Linked DNA regions of Homo sapiens: all the other regions are linked to region 4. Evidence: promoter capture Hi-C in 16 types of primary human blood cells and fetal thymus (Javierre and others, 2016). All regions are on one chromosome and are shown on one strand. The core of a region is centred on a gene start or on the middle of the fragment in contact, and the rest is flanking DNA. Distances in the headings are between cores, read along the strand shown.

What was found. Contacts are between HindIII fragments. The CHiCAGO score rates a contact against its expected background, and 5 or more counts as called.
Region 1: the fragment with the promoter of DCANP1 here is called in contact with the fragment with the promoter of TGFBI in region 4 in 3 of 17 cell types (M0 macrophages, M1 macrophages and M2 macrophages); the score reaches 12.0 in M0 macrophages.
Region 2: a fragment that was not itself captured here is called in contact with the fragment with the promoter of TGFBI in region 4 in 1 of 17 cell types (M0 macrophages); the score reaches 5.4 in M0 macrophages.
Region 3: a fragment that was not itself captured here is called in contact with the fragment with the promoter of TGFBI in region 4 in 1 of 17 cell types (M1 macrophages); the score reaches 5.7 in M1 macrophages.
Region 5: a contact is called between a fragment that was not itself captured here and the fragment with the promoter of TGFBI in region 4, in 1 of 17 cell types (M0 macrophages). The highest score is 5.6, in M0 macrophages.

The regions. Positions count from the first base shown.
Region 1 is chr5:135,445,054-135,448,959 of GRCh38, reverse strand. It overlaps DCANP1 (dendritic cell associated nuclear protein 1), which reads left to right and starts at 1,612. Exons shown (of 1, transcript NM_130848.3): 1 at 1,612-3,906. The coding sequence starts at 1,852. The coding sequence ends at 2,586. It overlaps TIFAB (TIFA inhibitor), which reads left to right. Exons shown (of 2, transcript NM_001099221.2): 2 at 1-3,906. The HindIII fragment of the contact is 6,394 bases long and covers 886-3,906 here.
Region 2 is chr5:135,375,937-135,380,195 of GRCh38, reverse strand. The region is part of intron 2 of MACROH2A1 (macroH2A.1 histone); the gene reads left to right. Among named protein-coding and RNA genes, the nearest start is that of MACROH2A1, 21 kb to the left of the region's middle. The HindIII fragment of the contact is 1,275 bases long and covers 2,076-3,350 here.
Region 3 is chr5:135,462,846-135,466,790 of GRCh38, reverse strand. No RefSeq gene overlaps it. Among named protein-coding and RNA genes, the nearest start is that of TIFAB, 12 kb to the right of the region's middle. RefSeq lists an enhancer at 226-275 and a silencer at 476-615. The HindIII fragment of the contact is 653 bases long and covers 2,359-3,011 here.
Region 4 is chr5:136,026,638-136,030,747 of GRCh38, reverse strand. TGFBI (transforming growth factor beta induced) reads right to left here and starts at 1,760. Exons shown (of 17, transcript NM_000358.3): 1 at 1,559-1,760. The coding sequence starts at 1,692. The HindIII fragment of the contact is 4,637 bases long and covers 1-3,587 here.
Region 5 is chr5:135,482,578-135,486,886 of GRCh38, reverse strand. No RefSeq gene overlaps it. Among named protein-coding and RNA genes, the nearest start is that of TIFAB, 32 kb to the right of the region's middle. RefSeq lists an enhancer at 1,484-2,332. The HindIII fragment of the contact is 3,155 bases long and covers 326-3,480 here.

The sequences.
Region 1 (3,906 bases), core at 363-2,862, 580 kb after region 4:
GGTAGCTTGGGGTTACCTTCAGCTTTCAAATACCCACAGGCACGCGGGGCTTAGGAAAGCCTGAGTGTAATAAACTGCAAGTATTTCATTAAGCTGGCATACCCAATAGGATTCCCTGATCCCCAGATGGGCCACATGCACGCCACGCTGTCATGCAGACGTGGGGGTGGGAAATATAGACGAGGTGTAAGAGGAAATTGGAAAGGTGGGACTCACATTTCTGGAAAGGATGCAGGCAGGGCTCAGGGTTTCCTGAGGATGGGAGCTGGGAGCTGGGCCTGCCTGGAAATTCATTGTCCCCCTTATCATCCTCATCCTCACACTCCGCATTCTCTGTCACTTCTGGATCAAGGCCTTGGTTGACTTGAGGGCAAGGTCTTTAGGGAATGAGGGGATGGGGTGGGGGTTTGTGTAAGAACTCAGCCCAGCAGTTATTTCGCTCAGGGTGAGTCACACACCAATGGGGGTGGGGGAATTCCTTCCAAATAAGGGACTCGTTAGGAGCCAGGTACGCCAAGGGCAGGAGGATTTTCTCGGTGAACAAGGGCAGCAGCTATTTGCCACGCCATGCTGAGAAGGGGAGAGTGTGGTTTAGAAACAACGTTCACTAGTGTGATGCAGGGAGGGATCTACATGGTCACCATGATCCCAGACCCCACTCTCCAGGGAATCTGAGGCACCAAGGGCACAGCCCTGTTCCCCTGGCTGACTCGAATCTCTGGGTCTGTAGCTGTCAACAATTTCTGTTTTCTGCCCAAAAGGATGATCGTTTTGCACCCAGGGCAAGCTACAAGGAGGTCCAACTTCACTCACAGGCCCTGAGCATCTTCTCCATCAGGAAAACAGAGGTGGGCAAGACCCAGGCTTGCCCTGGTGTGGGAAGCTTCCTCTCCAATAGGGATGAAGCAAAAACACTCAGATCACAGCCACAAGGCAGGGAGAGCAGGGCTGCTAGGAAGGGGCTCTCTGATGCTGTGAATGACCCCTTGGGACCCCCAAAGCAGTTCCTCATTCATTCAGCAAACCTTCACCAAGCACCCACCTTGTGCCAGATCTGTGCAAAGCCACGGAACTGAACCAGAAGTGAATAAGGCAAACTCCCTCAGGGAGTTTACCTTGCACTCAGGAAAGTCAAGCATTCAGGAGTGCATTACTTATTTGATCACTACTATGATTAGTGCTATAGTCATTGTATTTTTCTCTCTCCTCCAGCTGGGCTCACATTCTCTTGTTAAGTGGCCTTGCCTGTTGAGTGCCTACCATGTGCTTAGCACTCTGCTAGGTGCTGTGTGTATTAACTGCACTTAACAGATAAGGAAACTGAGACTTGGAAAGGTTACATATCTTGCCCAACATCACACCATCAGTAGCTATGCGATTTGGGCAAGTGATTTAGTCTGCTCTTGCCTCTATTTCTCCCGCTGGAAAATGGGTAAGATAATAGTACTACCTGCTAGAGTTACGAGGGTCTTAGAAGGTGACACCTGTAAAGCATTCAATCAGTGCCCAGCACACACTTAATAAGGGTTAGCTACTATCATGAGACCTGAGAGAGGAGGGCTCACCATCCACACGGAGCTAAGGAAGACTCACACCCCAGTAAGCTGGCTCCAGAACCCAAGGGCTTACCTGTGCTCTGTGATTCCCCAACTAGGGATTTAGTTGTAGCCACGGACCTGGTAGGCAACAGGGAGGGGATTTTAATCTGCTCCTTGCATCAGAAGGTCCAATAGGCAGGGTTAGTATAATGGGAGATGCCCTGGTAGGGCTGGCAAGGAGAAGAAGCCACATGTATTTTGGTCTGATGAAAAGCAGCAGTGATCTGTCACTGACCAAAATGGTCCCCCAACTATGCATTACGGAGCAGCAACCCACATACAGAACTCGAGAAGCCACGGCCTGGAGACTGTACCTGGACACCAAAGACTGGAGAGAGGAGCTGGTGGGGAAACCCCAGAGTTCCCAGGGTGCCACTCCCCAGCTCCACCAGAGAACTTTGGGAATGAGCTGCTGCCCCTGAGTGCCCCTCTCCAGGGCCTCAGTGAGGGTCTCTACCCTCCAGGGAGGAACAAAACCTTGCCAGCTGGGGTCCTGCGAGAGGGGGCAGTTCAATTCCTCCACAGGGGACTCTGCAACTCCAATCTTTCGAGTGAAGCATCTGCGAGGCCCTCAGGGACCCAGGATGAACTGCATAGCAGCAGAAGGAAGACAGGCCAGACCAGGCGGGAGGGAGCCCGGAAACATCTGGTTTGTAGTTTCAGACTCTACCCGTTCACAGTTCACACAGTCTCACCGGGAAACTCACACCTTGCCCTGTACCAAGTTTTTAAGGCAGTTAAGCTCTGCCCATCCGAGACTTCATTTTTCTTGAGTAGAAAATCACTGAAATCATCAGATCCATGGCACCCACCTTCACTTTCTCCTAACAGCTGGAACCGTCAGGCTGGCTTCAGGGCCTGGTCTTCGCACTTGATATCACTATCCCTCACCTGCTCAGACAGCCAGAGCAGGCGGGTGAGTTCCTCCCAACAACCTCCACTGCATTCTCTCAGCTCCCACCGCAGGGCAGCCCACGTGCCTGAGTGAACATGTGTGCGTGTGCACACACGCAAGTATGCACAGACATACACTAAACACGAACATACAGTGCACATGAACGCTGCTCCCAGCTAGGGCCCTCTGGTCAGACTGCTGCCTGGGTTAGAATTCTTGTCCCCACCCCCACTTACTATAGTTCTGTGATCCTGGACAAGTAACTGAATCTCTCCGTGCCACAGTTTCTTCTTGTAGAAAACGGGAAAGTTCACAGTACTTACCTCCTTAGAGTCATTGTGAAGGTCAGTTTGAGGCATCACAAATTTAAGGCACCCAGACATAAGGGTCAACAGGGTTAGCTATCACTGTCCAGTTTGGTGGGAGGAACTGAATGCATGTAGGCACATGGACCCAGTCTACACTCAGGCACAAAAGGAGCTACATTAGTTACATTCAGGCATACCCCAGAGCACTACAATTCTCTGAGACATTGTCTGGAAATCTAGAAATCATCTCCTTGCCCTTTAAGGTATTTTAACCCTCGCATTCCTCTGCTTTTCCAAGAATGTGAATCTTGCCAAGCTGTCCGTGAGAGACACGGGCTCCCCTCGAGGGAGACTTGCAAATGCTCCATAAACAGCCACAGTGTGGGGCTCTGCCATGAGGAAGTCACAGCAGACACGCTAGACAGCATAGTCCTGGATGCAACCTGGAGGAAGGGAGGCCCATGGTGGAGCACTCACTCCGTGCCTGTCTGCCCGGTGAGACCTCAAGTTCCTTGCAGACAAAGGCCATGGGTTGTTGGCTCTTGTGTTCCCGGTGGCCTTTCCAGAGCTGAACAGAGGACAGATGCACAGACGGGGGGGCTCTGGTGGTCAAGGCAGCAGTCCCCTTGGATACTAAAGTCTGAGCCAGGCCCCTCAGGCCCGGCATGGGCAGTGCGAGGCCCATAGTGGTGGGAAGCCAGTTGGCCAGCTGGGGTGAGAAGGCCGCGAAGCCATGGGCAGACAGGAAGTGGAGGTGAATGTCTCTGCCTCCTGTAGGCCTCAGCAGGGACAGCACAGACCCTCTGGCTGGGGCAGCGCAGACCCTCTAGCTGGGGCAGAACAAGGCTGGTGCTTCCTTCTAGTCCTTGAGACTTTGTAGCTCTAACTCAAGCAGAACCCTGGGGTTTTGGGATTCTGTGTGGTGACTGCTGAGGAAGGTTTATGGATTTGACAGGGTGCATGTCACAGAGAGACAGTTCTCAGTCAGCACTTCCTGTCCCCTGCAGAGGCTCATAGGGGACAGCCCCTGCCAAGGAGACCCTGGAGGGGCTCTGAGGATAGCAATCAGAGGTTGGGCTGGCTGGACTGAGCCCAGGCCTGTTGC
Region 2 (4,259 bases), core at 1,464-3,963, 650 kb after region 4:
CGCAGCTACATGGTAAATAGTTTTTTATTGAAGGCTAAGAAGACCAGTTAGAGGAATGATGAGTTTCAGGGGGAGGGAGTATTGGTAATGTCAGATACTACCAGGAAATTGATGAGGATGAAAATTAAACTAGACCCCTGGATTTTTAAATGAAACATGATTAGGATTAACACGGGGGCAGAGTGGGCCACACCTGTGTGAGGGGAGGTATGCAGCAGGGCAGCTGTTGCTGGCAAACAGTAGGGCGTTAGAAATGTAGCAAGGGCTGATCCTCATGTCTGCCAAAAAAAAGCCACAGAGGAGGTCTCGGCAATACCTTGAAAAGCAGAGGAAGTCAGGAGCTGCCCAGCTGATTAGAGATAGCAGTGTCCCAGGAGTGGGACCCAGCATCCCAGGTGTCCTCCGTGGATGACCATCAGGACGGGCTTCTAAAAGAGCTATTAACACTTTGTCACTGAAAGGAGAAGGAAGAAGGTAAGAATTCCACAAATGTCTTTTCTCCCACTGTCTTCCTGTTAAAATACCAGCAACCGATAGAACATATTTACAGTGTTTCTGCTTGCTTTCTCCTGCCTGAAGGCTTCTATGTCTAGTCAAGTCAACCCAGAGTAAAATCTGAAAGCAAAGAGCCACTCCTCAGAGCTATAAATAAACTCTAGCAAGAAGACAAACCCAAAGGGTATTAATCATTGTCAGCCTCCGTCTCTTCCCACCACCCTCTTCCAGTTCTGGTTGCCAAGAAGATGACATAAAACCTCTTTGGGTTTGCCAGGCTGCTCCACTCAGCCTAACTCTCTGACCCTGGATCCCTCCCTTTCTTCCTCCTCTTCCCACCCCACCTGCTTCCTTTTTAGGCAAGTGCATCTTCCATTTAGTGGCTAGAACATGTGGGTTCCCTGGCACCCAGTGCTGGGCTCTTTAAAGGCCGATAGTAGCGCCTGGTGCTGAGATACCCTCTCACGGGGTTGACATCACCCCATCTGCCTACAGGGGACACTCTGGGATTTTATAGAAGGCGCGTTCCCTGCAGAGCTGTGGGAGCCATGTGGAAACAAACCCAAGGCCTCTGGAAATGGCTAATGTGTTGGTTTCCCTTGCCATCGATATTCTGATTGATGCTCCTTGTGGTAACTAGTAGCTGAGGTAGTCTTTGGTTCACATTTATGTTGCCTCTATAAATCTGAGTATTGACTGCTAAAAGTCAATATCTGCTGTTCATTCAGAAAATGAGGGTACTTAACTTGAGTAGCATTGTTTTTCTTGCCCTTTCACTCCCACCCCAGGCCCTGGCAGTCTCTAGTTCATATTCTAACTGTGGCTTGTAATACTAGTTTTAGGGACTTCGGGGGAAGTGCTCTGAATTCTAGGTAAAGGTGGAACAGTTAAGTTCCAAAACATCTGCCGTATGTTGAACAGTTACTGTGTGCTAGGCACTGATTAAATGCTTTACATTTGGTAATTCATCGAATCCTCAAACCACCTAGCTTTCTTAGGAGTAAATTGAGGTTCAGAGTTTAAGTAACTTCTCCAAAATCACACAGCACAGAAACCTTAGCAGTCAGAGGAATTGGACCCCAGAGCACTTCATCCACTTGGCATTTCCTTTGTCTTGAAGCAGCCACCGTACACCTCAGGAAGACTGGTAAATGCCCGGTCCCCAAGGCTGGCTCGATGAAGACACAGCCTGAGGGGACAGACTCTGCAACAGTCATGGGTGATTGCCAGAGACATTCCTGTGGCCTCGTATGGGCAGGGAGGACAGGGGTCCTGCAAGATAGGCCTTGAAGGATAGGCAGCCCTGGACAGGGATGAGGAAAGTCTAGAGCGCACAGGCAGGAGGTGGGTGTGAGCACAGGAGGGGCGAAGTCCCCTGGAGTGACATGTGCTGGCCCGCCGGGAAGGGGCGGTCTGGTGCATGTTAGAGCTGCTGCTGTAGCAGTGGCAGAGCAAGCGAGGTACTGGGCAGAGAGCTGCCCTGAGGAGCCACAGCAGGCGTCGGAGAGGGCAGTGCCCAGTCAGGTATGGGGAGCTTGTGTCACTCAGTGGCACTGAGGAGGGCTGGAGAGTGGGAAGCTTTTTGGCCAATGTCCTTTCATTGTCCCCTTAGCGAAGAGGAGGTGGAATCCTAGGTGTTGGAGCTTAGGCAAATCCTTAGACAAGCAGTCCTCAGCATCGGGAATCCACACCGGCAGACAGCACAGAGGCCAGGCTGGTAAAGACCTCAGGAGCTATAGTGCCCTCTCAGGGGCCTCCCTTTCTATGACACACTCACACTGCTCTAAAAACAGCCATGAAAAAAGAACCTAGAAAGTCTTCGCATGCTCAGAACCATTTTTTGGGAGAAGCAGGATTAAGCAGGCTGGGACAGAGTGTCTGAGGGTAAGGGGGCTTGTGACCTGTGGTACCAAAGGCCAGCTGGGGCAGCCGATAGCAGAAGTGCCTGCAGCTTCTCATCTATCCAGTGTTATAATTATTTTCATTTTGAAAGGAAAATATGCAGAAGATAAATTCAAACAGCACAAAAGGGAGTAGAGCAAAACGTCTCCCTCTGACCAAGTCCCTGATTCTGCTCCCAGTGGGCGAAGCTGCTCCCCTGTCTTGATGAACATGTGTAGCCCGATTGCAGACGTCGCCTCCTCCCCCAACACAGTGCAGCCCACGAAACTCACTGTTCTGCTCCTCGCTCTTTCGCTTTGAGTCCATCTGGGAAACCGTACCATGACAGGGCTCCTTAAATGAGTTTCCTCTTTACATTATACTCTTCAAATCATTTCATTTCAGCAGACATCGCTGATTGTTCACCCCTTCCTGAGATGAATTAAGAACAAATGGCTGTGGTTTTCCCTATCAAAACAAACATACATATTAACCATTTCCTTGTAACTTAATTGAGAGTCCTTGACAGCAAGTGATTGGTGGGTCAGAGGTCCTGCCCAGCTGCCAGCCAGGCCTTGGAGTAGAACAGGTTTCTCAGGGCCTCCCCAGGCACCTTCTCCTTCCCAGGGCCTTGACTTCTACTGCCTGAGCCACTGGCTCTGCACGCTCTGCTGTGGTCAGACAAAAGCCCCAGACCTCATTCCAAGGTAGAGATGCCTGTGGGGGCGCCCTGGGTGCTGTGTTCCATCAAGGCAGGTCTGGCAGCACCGAGGTTAATCGAGTTCAAGTGCATTTTTCAAACATATGTTAACTGTTAAGCATAACAGCAAAGAGTAAACTATTGGCAGAGGAAACACCAGGTTTTCTGTTGCTTTTTTCCTCCTTTTGGCACAAATCCATCCATCGAAATCATCCAGTTATAGATAGAGGAAATCGAGGCAAAGGAAGTGCAGTTTTCTCCTGGTAATCAAGCTTGTCGCACTTTTTTAACAGTGCAGTTGTAGCCTCAACAGTAGTAGCTTGAATTTACTGAGTATACTAAGCATTTTACTTGGTAACTCATTAATCTCATAAGCCTAGAGGTAACCTCAGGTATCACTCCCCCTGTACAGAATAGGAAACTGAGGCTTAGATGCACTTGGCCACATCTTACAGATAATTACAGGAGCTGGGATCCAAACCCCGACGGTCTGTCAGCAGACCCCGGGCTCTCACCACAGTGCCATTTGCGATTGCTGCCCTCCCCTGCAGACAGAGCGGGCAGCTGAAACAGCACCAGAGGTGAGGAAGGCAGAGGAAAACTTCCTGACAAGGAAGATATTCGGGCACTGAGTTGGGTTGGTGGGTTAGATTAAGGTAATGTTTGCTAAGAATCATAGCTCCCCTGTGTTATTATGTATAATGTAAACTTATTTATTTTTTACTTTGAAATAGGGCTGAAAGTTCCAGTCAGTGGAACTTACTTTACAGATTCCCAAATTAAGCTGCATTTCCATCTTATTGGGAGACTTTGTGGGAAGGCAGAAGACTGGACCAAATGCTGTCTCTGAGACCCCTGGCTCCTCCTGGACTTTTCGGAGGAGTCTGCAGTGGGCTTAACAACAGTAGAGGAGTTTGTGTCAGGCTTGGAACCATCTTTGGAATACTACTTTCAATCACTGCTGTAGGTTTTATTTTCTCTATGGAATTCTGGTTCCTTTGAGGCCCCTGGGACAAGCAGATGGAGAGCTTTGCTGTGGCCCAGAGCTCCCAGCTGATGGCTGGGCAAGCTTCAGACCCTGCCACTCAACCTCCTGAAAAGGTGGGATGGGGGCAATGGATTCTGGGATGCGGCTGCAAACACTCAGAGCCACCAAGGGAATTGGAGGAGGTTGTGGTGTGGT
Region 3 (3,945 bases), core at 1,436-3,935, 560 kb after region 4:
AACGACCCCGCTGCTGCCATCGCCACTGCTGGTGCTGCTGCTACGGCAGGCCCTGGCTCTCCATGCAGTCTCCAGAATGCCCTCATCTACTCCCATTCATTTCTTGAGCACCACCTGTGTGCTTGGTCGTGCCTGGTCGTCTGAGGCACAGCCCTGCGGCAACGCTAACTCTAGCCTTCTTCCCAGGAGGCGCAAGTTTAGAAATCTTCCAGAAGGCGCAGTTTAGAAATCAAGTGCTCTCCGGTCCTAATTGCGGTCACACTGAGTTGCAGTGGCCCTGCGATGGCCTTGTATATCCTCTCCCAGGAAGGCTGAACACCCAGCACACAGGACAGACCCTGGTACTCAGCAGGTGCTGCATAAGCGTCTGTTAAATGCAGGACTGGAGCAGTGCAGAAACAGCTCTTACTCTGAAATCGCAGGCGCTTCCCGGGGAGTCCCGCACCGGCGCAGACGGCGGATCCAGGGCGTGGAGGGGGCCGGGGAACGGGTTCAGAGTGCCATCTACCGGCAGTTCGTCGGACTGGCAGGAAAGGCCTTGGCCCTGCGGCGGGATGGAGCCCCCCAGACTGCGCTGTTTGCTACGCTGCTCCGGATCCATTCACTCTCCAACCGCTCTGCAATCACTTCGCAATCACCAGTAAACTTTGCCGCCTACTTGAGAAGAGAAAGGTAGGGCCCAGGAGTAATTAGCAAGTCCTGAATTGTGCTGAGAATATCCAGGAAGGGGGCTTGTCTTTCACCAGCTTCTCCTGCGGAAGGGATTTCCCCCAAATTCTCTTTATTGGGAGGCTTTGAGCAGGAGCCAATGACTGCAGTTCCTGCAGAACCGGGGCAAGGGCCTGCTCCCTGGGGGACCGGCAGGGGCTGGGGTTAGTCAGACCCAGTGGACATACCAACTCTGCCACTTACCAGCTGTGTGACTGAGAGCAAGTTACTCTCTGCGCCTTAGCTTCCCCATCTGTAAAACAAGCCCCATGATAGTACCCCATGGTAGGATAGTTATGAGGATGTAAGCCAGATGTAACCCAGATGCCAGACACCCACTGTTCCCGAGGGTCTGGCTGCCCTTTAGTGTCCGATAGCAGAAGAGACCCAGCCTTCATCCTCCTTGGTCATCGTATGGCCAACTTTCATCCAGCTCCCCTCCCTCTGTGCCCTGGGAATCAACAGGTTGAGCTTGCCCACCCTGGCGATACCAGCTTGTGGCTGGTATTCCCTCATCTCACCTCCTGACTCAAGCTCCCCACTCTCCTTATCTCGGGTGATCTCTCGACATCTCATAACAAGTTTTCCCAGGCCCCACTGCTCCCCACAATGCTTCGGCTCACACGTGGTCAAGACTGCTGCTACATCTTAAAGCAAAGTAGGACCAGACCTGACTGGGATAATACTAGGAGAGAACAACAGAGCATGATGGAAACCTGCAAACTAGCTCCTGGGTGCGGCTAGGCTCAAAGTCCTGAAACCACAGCCCACAAAGGGGTCAGCATCCCCTCGAAGAGGGACTGCCCCAACCATATGGCCCTCTCCTCCAACAACACACTCCTCCAGCTTTCTGAGACTCTGTAAGGAAACTCGCTTCCTTTCTATTTCTGCAATTCCTCACATTTCTGCCCTGAGTGAAGACAACCTTTGCTGTGATTCTACAAAACAAAACTCTCAGTATTTTTCTTTTGCTGCCTGGAACCTCTGCATCCCAGAGCTGCAGCTTGGCTTTTTCTATGTAAAATCAAATGCCCTGTTAATTTTTTTCCCTTTTTCAAAACACAAAGAATAGGCTGCTCTCAAAGATGCCTCCTACAGAAACTAAAAGTCTAATGGGCCAGGCTCATGTGTGTGATCCCAGAACTTTGGGAGGCTGAGGCAGGAAGAGGATCACTTGAGGCCAGAAGTTCGAGATCAACCTTGCAACATAGGTTGGTCTCTACAAAAAAAAATAGAAACAAAAACTAGTCAGGTGTGATGATGTGTGCCTGCGGTCTCAGCTACTGAGAAGGCTGAGGTGGAAGGATGGCTTGAGCCCCAGAGGTCAAGGCTACAGTGAGCTGTGATCACGCCACTGCACTCCAGCCTGGGCAACAGAGTGAGACTGTGTCTCAAAAAAATAAAGTAAAATAAAAATAAAATGACAACGGTTGACATTGATTTTCTGATTCCTAGTCCACGATCCTGTGTAAGCTGTGTGCCTGTTTATCCCTTCACCAGTTCCCAACAACACTGTGAGGCAGTCACCATTTTGTCTGCATTTTTTAGAGGAGGAAAATAAGTATACGAAGGTTATGGGGGTCCCCCACATTCACATAGTTAAGTGTCTGTCTCCAGATTCAAACCCAGGCAATCTGGCTTCTTAAAGCTTCACCTTTAGCTTAAAGGTAAAAGCACAGGATCTGAGATTTCAAAAATGCTGGAGTCCCATCTTGGCTAGAACACCCTGTTACAAATGTGGGTGTTGAGTTTTCGCAGCATGGCTGGAGCACGGGAGGCGCCCAGCGAAAGGGGCACCTGGGGCCAGCAAAGCCTGTAGCCAGGCAATAGTGCACCAGAGAGGCAGCCTCCCATTCCACCCCTACCTCTCTAAGGGGTGATCTCTGAGTAAGGGGCATCTGTTAGCCTTGCCCCATCTCAGGCACCATCCTCAGTGGCTCACATCCCACGACAGCCGACATCCTTCAACAGCTCCTTTATTGTCTTGGAATAGAATCCAAACCCTCTACCAGAATCTAAAAGGCCCTGCAAGGACTATCTAACCCCACCTGGTTTCCAGCCATCTCTCTGTTACTGCTCTTCCCTTCGCTTGCAGGCAGTTCCCTGTCTAACCAAGGCTGCTGCTTCAGGGCATTTGCACTCAGGACCTCTCGGCCTGCTGCCTTACTCCCTTCAGCCTCTGATGAACCAGAATCTCCCCAGGGGGGGTTTCTGAATGCACAGTCATCCCCCACCGCAGCTACATGCTCACCATTCCTATTCGTTTCCTCCTTCCTTTCCAGACTGTCTCTAGAATGCAAGCTTCCTGAAGGAAGGCTTGCCAAACGTGATAGGCTTAGTAGTGGCCCCAAAGACACACCCACTTCCTAAACCCTGGAACCTGTGACTGTCACCTCATGTGGCAAAAGATGGGATCAAATTAAGGATCTTGAGATGGGGAGATTTCCCTAGATTATCTGGATTGACCCTAAATACAACGACAGTATCCTCATCACAGGAAGGTGGTGGGAGATTTCACACTCGGAGAAGAAGGCCACATGAAGATGGAGCAGAGAGATTTGCCCCAATAGAGAGACCCTGAGCACTCCAGTCTGTCTGGAACTAACACCAGCCACCCAGGCTATCTGCCCCATGCCCCAACTCACGTGTAGACTTTGGCTCCTTCATGGTGATTTCTGTTATTTGGTTCTGCGGGGGCTCATGTCCTAAGGAAAAAATTACATTTTGGCTAACTAGGGTTTACCACACCTCACAAAAGGATTGCAAACTCAAAGGCTTACAGGAGCCTAGAACATAAAATAAATATATACGAAACAGGACTGGGGGAACTGAGGCAAACTGGGATGGAGCGCCAAGCGTCTGCACCAGCAGACGAGTGCCCTGCAGGAACCCGAGCCCAGGCCAGCCTCATCTCCTGACTTTTCAGCTGAAGCTGCAAAAATTGAGGGTTTTATTTCCAGGCTTCCAATTTTAAAATGTTGACAACTTGGACAAAATGTATACAATACCACACTGTGTGGCCCATAGTAGCTGCTAGTTTCTTCTTTGCGGACAGGGACCCACTGAGGCAGAAGGCACCAAATCCAGGTGGCTCCTAGCTTGATTGGGGTGCCTGTCCTGAACATTAGGACCACTTTCCCTGCAGGATCCATGGGGGAATTCGATTCTCCCAAGTGAAAACATCAGAATTCAGTTGAATTCCGATGCAGCTGCACGTCTGCAACAAACACTTCCAAC
Region 4 (4,110 bases), core at 511-3,010:
AACATAACACAATTCATTGGCAGGAAAGGCAGAGAGACCAACGGAGAGGTGGGCAGAGATAATAAAAATGCCAGGTGCTTGCATTTTGATGTTGAGGCCTCATATCCCTCTCATCTTTCTGACATCCCCCCTCACTCTATTCTGCACACTGCCCAAGTCAAAGCTGATTCTCCCACTTCCAGAAAGACCCCAGGATATCCCCAGTATTCTCCTCTTTCCAGGAGGGTGTTGAGGTTGCAGCCAGGCCTGGTTTGATTTCACTCTGCAGGGTGGCCAGATGTGCTCCCAGCAGGCCCTCTCCGCCAGAGCCCCAAACTCCTGAAAGGCCTAGACCATAAAGCCACAAGTAGAGGAAACAAGAGCAACTATGCCCTACAAGGGGCAGCCTGTACCCGTACCCAGAGCACTCCTAGTGCAAGGAGCCAAGACTTTCAGGGCCTGTGAAGTCAACTCTATCACCCCCAACAATGAGTTTTGATTTGAGCACAGATCTGCCCAGTCTCTTGGAGGTTTGGGCATTGCTTGTGGGTGTGAACGCCAGACCCCGATGGTATTTAGGCTTCCTCTGAGGAGTCACTACAAGATTCTACTCATATATAGTTTTACCTAGTTATGAAAAAGAAGTTGGTGCAACCAGGTAGGCTGGAAGCTGCAGCAAAGCCTGGGTATTTGTGACGCAGGTATGGCCTGGTTTTTGAGGTAGAAATGTTGCCTGCCTCTGCCTGGGTCAGTATTAGGGCCACTATCAGACCAGACCTTCTGCTTGAGTTTGTCTCCTAAAGCCAACACATCTTCAGGGTCTCAAAGGAATTCCTGCAATGATAGTGTCCTACATTTACAAACCCAGCTATTACTTTAAGACAGACTCCAATCCTGGCTCCAGTGCACACTTCAGGACTGTGGGAAAGTGGAACCACTCAGGACTCAGTTTCCCCATTTGAACAGTGTGTGTGAGGGCCCAGTGCATTCTCCTGCTCTTCATCGGGCAGGACAAGAAGTGCCACATTGCCCTTGCTGTACCCAGAGAGCAGTGTCGGGTGCCAGCAGTGTCTGAGTGCAGGGCCTGGCCAGGAGCACAGGAGCCTGGGGCACCTTAGATGCTGCCACCGTGTGTGGCCCAGGTTCTTGTCTGGAGTCGCTGGCCGGGGGCCTGGCTGGGTTGGAATAGGTGTACTGCTGGGTGGGCTTTGCCCTTGGCACCCTCCCACGGTGATTATGGCCAAAGAGTTGCCATTTCCCCCTTTCTGCAGTGGCTGGGAGGAGAAGCTGAAAGCGCTGTCCGTCTCAGGCTCTTGGCCTGCGTCGAAAGTCTCTGGTCCACTTCCCCACTCCCTTCTACAAAGCGGCGGCCTCCCGCTTTCCCTCCATGGTCCTCCACCTCCCTCCCTCTCTCCTTCCACCGCGTGCAGGGCTGGTGTCCGAGCGCTCCATGCTGCAAGGTTTTTAGTTCGGGCTTTGTCCCCTGCGCCCCCAGCCCAGTTCAATGCCCCCAGCGGCTTGCGCTCCGAGCCCCGACTACCTGACCTTCCGCAGCCCCTGGCCAGGCGGCTCGGCTTACCCGTGCTGGCGGCCCCGGAGCCTGCTGTGCTGCAGCACCAGCTGGTAGGGCGACTTGGCGGGACCCGCCAGGGTCGCGGCGGGGCCCAGGGCCAGAGCCAGGGCGAGAGCCAGCAGCCGCACGAAGAGCGCCATGGAGCGGGACGACGCGCACCGAGCGAGCTAGCGACCGACGGGCAAGCGGGCGGCTCCAGGGAAGTGAGAGCGCCTCCGCCGCCCGGGCCAGGTTAAGTAAGCTGCGAGCGGGAGGGAGCGGACGCCAGGGGCGGGGAAGCTGGGCCGGCCCGTGCAAGGAGGGCGGGCCGCCTGGCGCCTCCCAACCCGTGCGCCCCTGGCTGCCCTGGGCACCCACCCGCTCCCGCACTGTGCCCGTGCTCAGTTTTCCCAGCCCTTGCCCTCACTGCCAGCCCTCCCTCCCTCTCTCCCTCGCCACAGTCTTCCTCAAACCAAGGGTATAGGTCCCTTAGGCCTCCTGTGGCTGCTTCCAAATGGGGACCTTGGGACTGAGGGACAGCTGTCTCGGGGGCTTCGGTCCTGCATGCTGGGGGCCCGAAGATTCCCTCACTGATCTTGAGGCTACAAAACACTGCAGGGAGGGGTGAGGGGAGGCAGTGCTGATTCCCAGAACACCATGGCCCATCAGACTTGTTTCTGCACCCCAGGAGCTGACCACCCTCCCCAGCTCCTCAATCTCTAATCCCTCCACCCCCACCCCACCTGTCATGCTCATTGAAAGACAGATGAGTAAATCGTGTGATCCACAGAAACGCCAAAAATGTGGGGCAGGTTTTGTTGGGCTCTAAGCTGCTTTTGGAGCCCGTGGGGAAGGGTGGGGTCCTCACCTTGGTACTAATTCATTCCCTTCTTCAGTAAACATCTCTGCAACAGTACCTGCCAGATAGATTCTGCAAAGGCAAGAGTCCTGCCCTGGAGGAGCTCAAGGCAGGTAAACAAATTGTCACATGGTAAAGAGGTGATACTTACCCAAGCATCTATTAATCACCTGTCAGTTACTTGGCACTGCTAGCCCTGGGGAGACACAGATGGATTAATAGAATGAGTGAGACCTAAGCCCTTTGTGAAAAAGCTCCAATTTGGGAAGATCCGTAGCCCAAGCCAATGATGTTCCATGAAGAGTAGCTGGGGCTTTGGGAGCTAAGAAGAGGCACCTGGCCCTGACAGGGTGATACCTGCTCTGAGGCCTGAAAGATGAAAATGAGTTAATCAGGTAAACTGAGGCATGCATTCACGAAACTCAAGTTATCTGGTTGGCTGAAGCACAGGGAGGTGGAGTCAAGGGTAGGGAAGAAGGGGAGGAAGGTAGCAGGGCCCAGACTCCAGCTAAGAGCCTAGCGGGTGATGGGTGGAGGCAAGTGACATGGCCAGTGTCATGAGAGGCTTAAGGAGGCAAGAAGAACAGGTAACCAGGAAGGGACCATGGGAGAGCTTGAACTATGGTGGTAGAGGCAGAGATGGGGAAGGCTGGGCAAATGTGAGGGGTGTAGGAGGTAATAGTCTCAATAGAATTTGGAGTCTGTATACAGGGAGAAGGGGAGAAAGGAGAGTCAAGGATATTGTAGGGTGTTTGTGGTCTGGACATTGCAGCAGGTGATGGTGCCATGTTCAGAATGAGGCACATGCAGAGTGCAGGCTTGCCAGGTAGATGAGTGGTTTGGGACACCCTGAGTCTGAGGTGCTTATGACTCATCCTGGTGAAGCATCCCATGAGGATAAAGCTGGATATGAGGATCGGGGGCTTGAGTGAGGGACGCGGGATGAAGATTCACACCTGGGAGTCATCCTCCAGTGACAGAAGAGCCCAGGAAGTAGAGAATGTGGGGTTGTAGTCAAGGAGGGGTATCCTAGTAGGAGGGCGCTGCTCAAAGTGAGGAATGCTGCCAACAAGACAGATCTGAATGGCTTTCACTGTGTCAGAAGCAGAGAGGCCACTGGGGACTTGGCTGTGGAGAGCAGATGGCCAAAGCCCGAATATGGTGGTTTGATGGAGAGATGAGTAGCATGTAGAAGCTTGTCTGAGAAGGGAAGGGGCGAGTTAGGATGGCAGCCAGGGAAAGAAAAAGACAAGCGGGGCTTGGAGAGGTTAGAACTCTGGTAGAAAGAAGGTGGGAAGGAGAAGGGAGAGAGTGTGGGCACTGGAGGAGGGCCTACTGAGAGCATAAAGCAACTGAGGGCCTGCATGGGGAGTGATCAAGCTAGTGGAGAGGAGGGAACAGGTGTATGGGAGATTTTAGTGGTAGCATTGATTAGACTTGGAAACCCCTTGGGCATGCAGGGTTAGGGAGGGGGAGTAGAGCTAACCTCGAGGCTCATAGCTGGCAGGAAGGGATGCCTGTGCTGGGCACGCTGGTGAAGGTGCACATTTGGGTGTGTGAGGAGAGTGCTCCATTTGTGTTCACATTATGTGTGAACAAGCCACCTGCATTTCCAGGAGGGATGGACAGGAGGGAGCTATATTCAAAGGTCTTGAGCTCAGGATAGGTATGAGGATTGGAGATGCAGATTTGAGTCACCACTACGAGCAGGTGGTAGCTA
Region 5 (4,309 bases), core at 654-3,153, 540 kb after region 4:
CCCAAGCCCACTTCCAAGCCTCAGTGGGCTCCTCTGTAGAATGGGGACAGCAGCAGTTCCCCTCCATGGGACTGTTGATTGGATCAAAGGCCACAAAAAGTAACAGGTAGTACTCACAGTGGAGTAATCACTTTGAACATCGTATTCTTTCAATGCCTGGCACCCTCTTCTTGTTATTTGTAGTGTGCTTATCAGTTGTTGAGCACTTACGCTGCTGGCGCTCTCTGTGTGTTTTCACGTGCCTGCTCACGGACGCTCCATTATTACCCCGGTGTGTAGATCTGATGGGGGGAACCACAGAGAAGTTAAGTTGCCTGTCCAAGCTTCACAGCCAGAAATGGAGCCTGGGATTAACCCACATTCCTCCTGACTCCAGAGCCATGCTAGGAAGCCCCAGCAGGTCCTCAGTGCCCCCTTGTCAACATCGGGTGTGCCTTCTCCAGACCAGCTGCCTTCCTTTGACCCACCAAGATGGGACTCCTCCACAGTCCTGGAAGAGCCTGTGGCCTTGACCCAAGTGCCGTGGAGAGACAGTTTGAGCACTCCTCTGAATGGGAACAGAGAGCCCCTGCAGGGGGAAAAGTTCAGCCTGTGAAATTTCTTTCCCTTCAATTTCCTTCTCCACCGGGTCTTGCTCACACAATGCCCATCAAAGGTGTAGCCTTGGTGGTGCTTTTTGCAGCTGTCCACAACACTTGGTGTGTCCATTCTGCATGAAGCGCACACCTCTGGGTTGCCACCATCCTGACTGGTGCACTATAGCACTGCCCCTGGCTGAGAGGCAGGCAGGTAGGATAATATCCCACCCATTCCCACTGGATGGAACTCTACTGTGTGCTCAGGACAAATCAGAACCCTCGAGCTTGGATCAGGCTTGATGAATCAGGCCCCTCTGAATCAAAGCCATTTGCTCACCATAGCCTCTTGGGAAGGGGAAAGGAAGGTGGGCAGATGGGAAGGGGTTAAGTCTCAGCTTGGGGTTCACCCTCCTCATTGCTCCATCACAGACCAGCAGGGTCTGCTCTGATCACCAAGATCCTCAGGAAAACAATGTTACAACCTCCCTTAGGAATTCTGATCAAGTCCAACCATCCTTTTCCCTTTTATCTGTCTTGTCTAGACTAATTTCCTCTCATTGCCTGAGAGCAGAAATGTATTAAGGGCTCTAATTGACCAAGATAATGAAGTATCTGCCACTGATTGTCAATCAGTCAAGTCCAAACTCCTTATTCGGAAGATGGGGAAACAGACCCTAGGAGGCAGTGACTTGCATAAAATCTGGGGTATGGACCTTCTATACCGGGAGGATGGTGTTTCCTTAGTACAGTCTTGCACTGCACAACAACGTTTTTCAGTCAACAATAGACCACACTTATATGACAGTGGTCCCATAAGATTATAAGGGAGCACATATAGAAATCTGACATATGGCACTTGATACTGACATTGCAGATCAAGTAGGAGAGATGACTGATTATCAGTAATGGTGCTTGGACATTTGGTTTTCCATATAAAAATATATAAATAAAAGCATATATACCATCTAGGCTTGTGTAAGTACACTCTATGATTCTGCACAACCACAAACTTACTGAACAATTCATTTCTTGAACATATCCCTGTCATTCAGTCGTATGACTGTAAGTAGATGAACATTCCCTGAAGGCCTAACTCTGCTCTAGGTTTCAGGAAAATACCTGTGAGATACTTGTCTCAGGGCTGATGGGTGACCTTCTGGGGTGAAGGCTTAACCCCTCTTAACCTTTGATCTCTGGCCATCGGTCCCCAACTTCTTCTCCAGGCTAAGTGAGTGCAAATCCGGCATCAGTCTGCCCAGAGGCCACCTGGGGGGGACATAGAGGCCAAGAGGCCCAGCAGGGACACAGCCTCTTTAAGCCAGATCAGTCCTGCCTGAGTGAAGGGAAGCCCAGAGGGAGAGAGGTGGTCACCCTGGGTAGGACAATTGCAGGAGGGACGAGCTGGGCCAGGCCTGGGCTCCACAAGGGCCCCTCTGTTCACATTCCCCGGATCAAAACCCACAGCTGGGATGTGCAAAATGCTCCTGGGAATGGTGAGAGGAGCAGCTGGCTTGAAAACCCCACATCCCAGTCTGGAGCAGGCTCCTCCAGGAGAGGCGTAAGGCCAGCCACGGTGCAGGCTCCAGAGAGCTGGGGACTTTTAGCCTACTTGAAAGAGCAAACAGCTTTCAAGTGCTCTCTGGAGCACCTATTTCAATGCTAATGAAAGACTCTTCTCTACGCATTAAAGCACATCTCCAAAAGACTCCCATGTAAGGGCTGCGTGTCCTTGTGCCTCTGTGTGTGTGTGTGTCTCAGAGTCAAATAGGGCCCAGGAAACAGAGTGCATGGGCTTCTGAGCTTCCCAGTACACCCTGCCCACATTCATCTGAATTAGAAGTGACAGAGAAGGACTTGTTGCCAACATCTCACCCATTTAGAAGTCACTCCAAGAAGGTCGGGCGCAGTGGCTCACGCCTATAATCCCAGCACTTTGGGAGGCCAAGGCAGGTGGATCACGAGGTCAGGAGATCGAGACCATCCTGGCTAACACGGTGAAACCCCATCTCTACTAAAAATACGAAAAAACAAAATTAGCCAGGCGTGGTGGTTGGCACCTGTAGTCCCAGCTACTCAGGAGGCCGAGGCAGGAGAATGGCGTAAACCCGGGAGGCGGAGGTTGTAATGAGCCGAGATCGTGCCACTGCCCTCCAGCCTGGCCGACAGAGCGAGACTCCATCTCAAAACAAAAAAAAAATTGCACAGAAGATCATCAAGCTGTGTGGGGACCTAAGTGAATCAAAGTGTGAGTTCCCAAGTCAGACAATCCTAGTTCCTGTCTAGACTCCACATTACTAGGCAAGATATTGGCCCTTGCTTTGAGACCCTATTTCCTCATTTGGGGCTCACCCCCCTCATTACTGCATCACAGACCAGCAGGGTCAGCTCTGATCACCAAATGGTAAGGATTATGAAGGCCAGGGGTTTTGGAAAGCATTTGTCACAGGCCCAGCACATAGCAAGGAGTGATCTCTGCTTGGTTGCTCTTCCCCTGGGCCCTGGCTTAGTGCTCAGCACACACAGGATAGATGAGTTTGGGATGAAGATTTCGGAAAGGAGGAGGCTGGCTGTTGGTGGTCAATATGGTGGTCGAAGGTGGTCAGGCATGCTCCATTGATTTTCTTTTTTGGAAAAAATAAACTGGAGTGTTTTGTTTTGTTTTGTTTTGTTTTGTTTTGTTTTGTTTTGTCTAAACAGGGGCCCAATAAGGGGCAACTTCCTAGAAAGCCTGACAGTTCATGGCCAATTCCTCAATGTCCTCTGAACCAGGCAGGGCTCTGCCACCTACCACGGACATCCCTGGTCAGTGACTTGGCCTGTCCATGCCTCAGTCTCCTCCTCTGTAAAATGGGGATAATAATAATGCCCTCCTCATAGAGTTCTTAAACACATTAAGGAAGCTTAGCCCAGTGCCAGGTACCAGAGTAAAGGCTCAATAAATGTCATCTTCCACCATCATGCACATCCTCCCATGATGATATGCATCCCACCTGCTGAGAATCCTGGTGGGAAGTGGCAACCCAGATGCAGACCCCAAATGAGGCAGCAGCCTAGAGAAGCAGGACCTCTCAGGCATTTTCTGAGGTCAAAAATGACTTCCTAGAAAAGGAGAAATGGAAAAACATTTTTCTAGTGGCTTTGTCCCCCACCCCATCTCACCTCTACATACAACTCCCTGCTCCTAGGGCTGCGGAGAGATCAGGGTGGACTAGGGGGTGAGGAAACAGCTGTAAGCAAGCTGGGGCTCACCTGTGCCCCGTTCCCACCCCCTCACCTAAGGGGCCACGCAGGGACAGGATGCTCACACAGGGTGAGGAGAGGGCTTGTTGCCTTGGGGAAGAGAAAGCCCTCAAGAGCAGGCCACTGATCTCAAAGGGAAATAATGGGATTTTCTGGGATTCACATTGATCCCCAAAGGAGAAAAGCTTCTGTTTGCCTTTTTTAAGCCGCCAAACAAGGAACTAAAGCCTCTTTGAGCCCTGAGTCGGGGCTGTCCTTTCTGAAGTCCTTATTATCCCTGGGGCACTAGGAGACCAGGCCCCAGTGCCTGGCCCTCCATGCAGGGAGATTTCCATTGGGCAGAGGCCTGCCTGGTTTCCTAGCTACTGTTATATACCCCACCGGACCGCAGGCACTGGCACCTTGACCCACAGTTCTTGCCTGAGGCCTGGCTCGGGCCCAGCTCCTGTCCTTGATCTATCCGGGATGCGTTTCCACATCCAGGAACAAAC